2 separate regions of the Homo sapiens genome follow, and region 2 is linked to region 1. Evidence: promoter capture Hi-C in 16 types of primary human blood cells and fetal thymus (Javierre and others, 2016). All regions are on one chromosome and are shown on one strand. Each heading gives the region's core, a stretch centred on a gene start or on the middle of the fragment in contact. The rest is flanking DNA. Distances are from core to core; before and after follow the strand shown.

The links. The method cuts DNA at HindIII sites, captures the fragments that hold promoters and counts their contacts. A CHiCAGO score of 5 or more calls a contact.
Region 2: a fragment that was not itself captured here is called in contact with the fragment with the promoter of DTWD2 in region 1 in 15 of 17 cell types (naive B cells, non-activated CD4 T cells, fetal thymus and 12 more); the score reaches 10.7 in naive B cells.

What each region holds. Positions count from the first base shown.
Region 1 is chr5:118,987,164-118,990,179 of GRCh38, reverse strand. DTWD2 (DTW motif tRNA-uridine aminocarboxypropyltransferase 2) reads left to right here and starts at 1,633. Exons shown (of 6, transcript NM_173666.4): 1 at 1,633-1,886. The coding sequence starts at 1,669. RefSeq lists a silencer at 1,720-2,049. The HindIII fragment of the contact is 4,492 bases long and covers 792-3,016 here.
Region 2 is chr5:119,249,233-119,252,248 of GRCh38, reverse strand. No RefSeq gene overlaps it. Among named protein-coding and RNA genes, the nearest start is that of MIR5706, 96 kb to the right of the region's middle. The HindIII fragment of the contact is 941 bases long and covers 1,150-2,090 here.

The DNA.
Region 1 (3,016 bases), core at 384-2,883:
TCTCAGGAAGTGTCATTTATTTACAGAAATAACATTGGTTAGTGATTGGCTATACATATTGTTGAACTATAGGGTATACGGCGTTTTATGGCTACTCGGTGTCAGTCTAGGGCCTGCATAGCAAGTGCCTTCAAGAGGTAATTATTTAGCTCAAGGGAGAGTGAGACATGACTGCTCGCATTCCTTAGATAAAAAGTTTTTTTTTTTTTCCTTATCATCTGTCTTCTCACACCACACAATTGGGAGTCTCAAGGGACCTTAGAGGACTTGAGCACATTTCACCTCTTGAAATTAAAGATGAGCAGCTTCCTTTCGTTTAAAGATAAGTCACATGAGAATTTAATTTTGGCAGTTAAAGAATTGGTTCCCCAACCTAAATCTACAGACAAGATGAATTTTCTGATTCATCTCCTTTCCTACAGTTTCTGGATTTTGTTTATCCTCCGATTCCAAATGGCATAATTGCTAGTTCTTTCTCCCACTCTACGTCCATCACCAGGTGGGTGTTTCAGCCTTTTTCTATCCCTCACATAGGACGCTCCAAAGGAAAAGAGAGGTGCTGTTTCCGGGGGGAAAGAACGTAGGATAGTTGAAAACAGCACGGTATTTTATTCACAAACTTGATTTTAAGATGACTGAAAAATCTAATGTGAAATAAACATTTTAAGAAATACAGTATTTGCTCTATTACTGTGTTGTCTACTTTGCCTCACATTTAATCTATTACAACTATAGAGTTAAGACAACTGTGATTCCTAAGCTTAATTCACATGATTGATCAAAACCAAGCTTAATTCTGTTTTAATGTTGTGTATTGCTGGAAGTAACACAAAGCATTAATAAACAAAAGGAATTCGATACCCATTTTGGGTAAATAGTATTTCTGCCTTCATTCTAACATAGATTTCATTTTGGCTTTTAAAAAACAGCTGCTGTGCTATATACCGCCGTATCCAGTAGTTGTTAAATACCTGGGCAACGTTACCTTTCTAGGGCTTGTTTCCTCATACATAAAACCTATTGGTACCCCGGGCCAGCTCTCCTATTGCTTCCTGATCGGGGACGATCTAAAAATCTAATTTAACAAATATCTGGTGTCCAGTGTAAAATAGCATGCTTGATGTCTTATTAGCACAAGACATAGAAGAGCAGGAAATTCACATAAGGAAACGGACCAGCTGTGAGTAGTTCCCAGTGGATATAACCTCTCCTTTGTTGGCCTTTAAATAATAAGTGCATCAGCTGCCGCACCTGCGATGCATGCACGCGTGGAAATCCTGCAAATTCTTAAACTGCCATCCCAAGGCGGAAAATGCAGAATTCCATTTTATTTTAACTTTTAAAGGAGTTAAATTCGGGCTTGGTACTGGGGTCCTCTCGGGGAGGTTTCCCTTACCTCTCCCAATGACGCTACTTAACCTCACCAGCACTCCAACACTGCCCACACTTGCCTACCCAGTTCTAGGTGAACGGTCCCACTGGGCACGGACCAATGGGCTCGTTCCTTCCCAGCGGCAGGGTGGGACCTCCAGCCTGGGCTTCGGAGACCCGCCCCCCGTACGTGGCGTGCGGGCATTGCGCTACGCGGCGCGGGCCGGTTTCTACAGCGCGTGGCGCCCCCCGGCGGCAGCCGGGCTTCAATGCCACGGCCTGACCGGAGTGTCCGCCATGGAGTCGCAGAAAGAGGCACGAACACTCCAGGAGCCCGTTGCGCGGCCTTCTGGGGCCTCAAGCTCTCAGACGCCGAACGACAAGGAGCGGCGGGAGGGCGGCGCAGTGCCGGCGGCGGCTGCCCTGGGCGCAGAGGCGGACGACGACAGTGCGGACGGGCTGTGGGAGCTGCCGGTGGAGCCGGCCGAGCGGAGGCCTGAGTGCACCCGCTGCAGGTGACCGCGGGGCTGGGGGCGGGGACTGCAGCCGGCAGCGGCCTTCGGAGGAGGGTGCGGCGCCCCCTGCCGGGGAGTCGGCGGCTCGGGCAGCTCTGCGATTAGGGCGGCGGAGTTGGCGGGTGCACGTTGGAAATCTCGGAAATGCCAGGCACAGCTACCTAGTAAGAAGCCCTTTTTCCAGGTTCATGATTATCTAACCTTACTTCCTGCAATATGCTGAGCGTATCATGGGATGAGCAGACATCAGTTCTGTTTCCAAGAAACTTAAGCGTCCAATAGGGGAAGTAAGGGGTGATGACAGTAATACTTGTAAAATAGTTACACAGTCATATTTAAGTGGCATAGTTATATCACAGTTAAAAAGCATAAAGTGGATTGGAGGAGAGAGACAGTCTCCTTTACCTATCCTACCAGAACTCTAAATATAGGGCCTTTTCAGGTGTTCATTCTAGGTTCTCTTCAAACCCTACATACGTCCCACTGGTAATTTATAAAATCAGTTTTCATGGTAAATTATCATCTATATCCCAGTGTGTCTAGCTCAGACCTTTCTTCGGAACACCAGACCTGTGCATTAATTTATCAGGTGTTTATTGAGTGCTTTGGTAATCACTGACAATGCAGTGGAGTTCATGTTTTTGTAGAGTATTCTCTTACTGGATACGGATAATAAACCAGCAAACAAGCAATCAAATATGTAATTACAAACTGGGAAAAAAGCAGTGAAGGAAAGGAATGGGTTGCTACTGTAGAAAATAGCTCAATGGTGTCATGAACTATCTCTGAGATTTGAAAGATGAGAAGAATCCAGCCAGGGGAAAAGCATTCCAAGAAGGGGAACAGAAGGACTGAATATGGTTGAAGATCTTTACTGCTTGAATACTTGGAGTATCACACTTTGGACATTTTGACCTTTTCCTAGGGCTGGATTGTAAGACTTCAGAGGAAAGGATCTTGAATGTAGAATGTTTTTATATTTTCTAAATGTACTATGTATAGTTGACGCTCAGTAAACCTCTGAGGAGGATGGAAAATTTGTGATTAGAAGGGACTGTGAATTTGAACATAGGGGTTTGTGAATACAATTAATTTAAACAAGTCGTCTGAGGGGGTTGGGGAAGCATTTA
Region 2 (3,016 bases), core at 371-2,870, 260 kb before region 1:
TGTAAACTCCAGATGGGGCATTCCCCCCCGTCATAAAACTTCTCATTAGGAAAAAGCCCTATGAGATCTTAACATACACTGCAAGTATTGTAGCTTGCTTAGTTATCTTCATGTCTGAATGGCCATAGTAATCTGATGCATTTTCTGCAAAACACAGAATGAAACAACCCAAATACAGACAACCAGATCCTATTTTAAGGAATTATCTTTGCTTGTGTTCAGAATAAACTGAAAAAAAAAAAAAAAAGGTATGGCTTCAGAAAACAAATATGCTGCAATTTCAGAAATGATGCTAAGAGTAGATTCCAAAGGATTTTTAAAACTTATTTAACGTATGTCCAGGGATACACCATACTGGCTGAGTTCTGTTACACAGGTCATACCTGTACATTGCATAGAAAATTGATTGTCCATGAATAAAGCATTTTTTCCACTGTGGAGTGAAATGTGTTGTCACACCAATTGTTTCTATTAGTCATCTGTATTTGCAGTGGAAGAACTTAAAAGTGTTTTTGTTCCAAGGACCCCTGTGAAACAATGTGACACTCTCAGTGTTAGTTCCTTGAGTAATGGACCATATATGTGCAATGACAGCCAAGCAGAAAGAAAAAACATCTTGAAAAGCTCAAAAACAGATTCAGCTTTGAAAATAACTGGACTGAAATCTACACACATTTCTAGAATACTAACAGGCACATTCAAATAATCTATGATCAACTTTTTCCAGGTACTCCAATGCAGCAATCCCCAACCCTTTTGGCACCAGGGACTGGTTTCGTGGGAAGACAGTTATTCCATGGAGCCAGATGGTTTCAGGATGATTCAAGCGCATTACACGTATTGTGCAGTTTATTATTACATTGTAATATATGATGAAATAATTATACAACTCACCATGACATAAAATCAGTGGGAGTCTTGAGCTTGTTTTCCTACAACTGGATGGTCCCATCTGGGGGTGATGGGAGACAGTGACAGATCATCAGGCATCACTCTCATAATGAGCACACAACCTAGATCCCTTGCATGCGCAGTTCACAGTAGGGTTCCTGCTCCTATGAGAATCGAATGCCTCCACTGATCTGACAGGAGGCGGAGCTCAGGTGGTAATGCAAGCAATGGGGAGCAGCTATAAATACACATGAAGCTTTGCCCAACACTCACCTCCTGCTGTGCAACCCGGTACCAGTTGTCACCCATGGGCTGGGGACTCCTGCTCCAAAGGGTAACATTTTAACATTCAGCTTAAATAAATTTCACCAAAAATATCTCAACAATTCAAAGAGGAGTGTTCCTGACACCAGATCACTTTATTCAACAGAGCAGCTCCCAAAGTCATGAAGTACTACTTGGTTTAAAAATAAAGCTGTTTTTCCCACGTACACACATTCAACAAAACTATCTTTGGTATTACTTTACTGAGTGAGGTTTAAAGGAGTTTGGGAAAATATTACAGCCTTCTTCCTTTTCCCAATGCTAAAAGTTTTGTGTATTTTTTCCACATGCATTTCTTTGTTCATATATATTTTAAAAAGTCTAAACAATTAGGATATTGTATCTTTTGCTCTGTAATTTTTTTTCCTCATCAGCCTCTTCTCAGGCCAACATATACATATCTAACATTCTTTTTAGTGGTGAGAGAATATTCTATAATATTACATGTATGTACCATAATTTATTCAACCATTTACTTGCTAATTAACATTTAGATTTCCAGTTTTTTTTTTTTTTTTTTTTTCATTTTTATTTTTTGAGACAGACTTTTGCTCTGTCACCCAGGCTGGAGTGCAGTGGCATGATCTCGGCTCACTGCAACCTCCACCTCCTGGGTTCAAGTGGTTCTCCTGCCTCAGCCTCCTGAGTAGCTGGGACTACAGGCACACAACCCCATACTCCACTAATTTTTGTATTTTTAGTAGAGATGGGTTTCACCATGTTGGCCAGGCTGGCCACAAACTCCTGACCTCAAGTGACCTGTGCTTGCTTCAGCCTCCTAAAGTGCTGAGATTACAGGTGTGAGCCAACACATCTGGCCTCTAGAATATGTTTCAATAAACATCTGTGTCCTTACATTTTTATGCATGGAAGCTTTTATTTTTATAATTTCTCAGAAGGTTGTTCACTGAAAGTTATGTGTATTTGATTTTAATTCACACCCAGATAACTTTGCCAGCAATGTTTCTGCCAATTTCCTTGCATCTTCACCAAAATGGATATTGTCACTATTTAACCTTAAACCAATCTGATAAAAACTAGTATTACAGTAATACTTTTTAAAAAACAATCCATTAACCCTTATAATGAAGATGAACACACTTTATATTTGTTGACTTTTTCAATGTCCTGTTCTGTGAATTGCTTATTCACAGTGTGACCACTTCTCCAATAACTTAAACTTCTCTTTGTATACAGGGACACTGACATGTTTCCTATTACTATACAAATATTTCTTCTAGTCTACTTGTTGTTTTAACTTTGACTGTGGTCCCTGCCATATGACATTTAAATTTTTTATTAAGTAAAATATGTCTGTGTTTCCAATCTTGTTAAAAAGATCACTTCCACCCTAAGGTTGTATAGACTTTTCTTTGAATGTGTCTTTGTATTGTGTTTCCATTGTTGGGACCAATGTGAGAAATTTCTGCAATTCTTCTAAAAAATATTTTTTTTTTCAAAGAAGGGAGGGCAAGGGCAAAGAGCAAGAAAGGAGGATGGAGATGACTGGTCCATGGTTTTAGTTAAGAAAAATCCTAGATATCAGAAAATAAGATTTGTTAATGTTGTGAATCCTTATATGATCACAAAGCCACATTCTTAGGAAACACACAATTAAAAAATGTATTTTGATGTATCCACTCCATTAATGTGGATAATGAAATTTTACATATATGTATATCATTTTATATTTAAACATTTCAACAATTTTTATTCCCACCTTCCTTGAATGCTGCTTACCTATCAACTTAAAAAGACGGTAGAAAAGAACAGGGTATTCGGGAAAGTTATTCCATCCTCC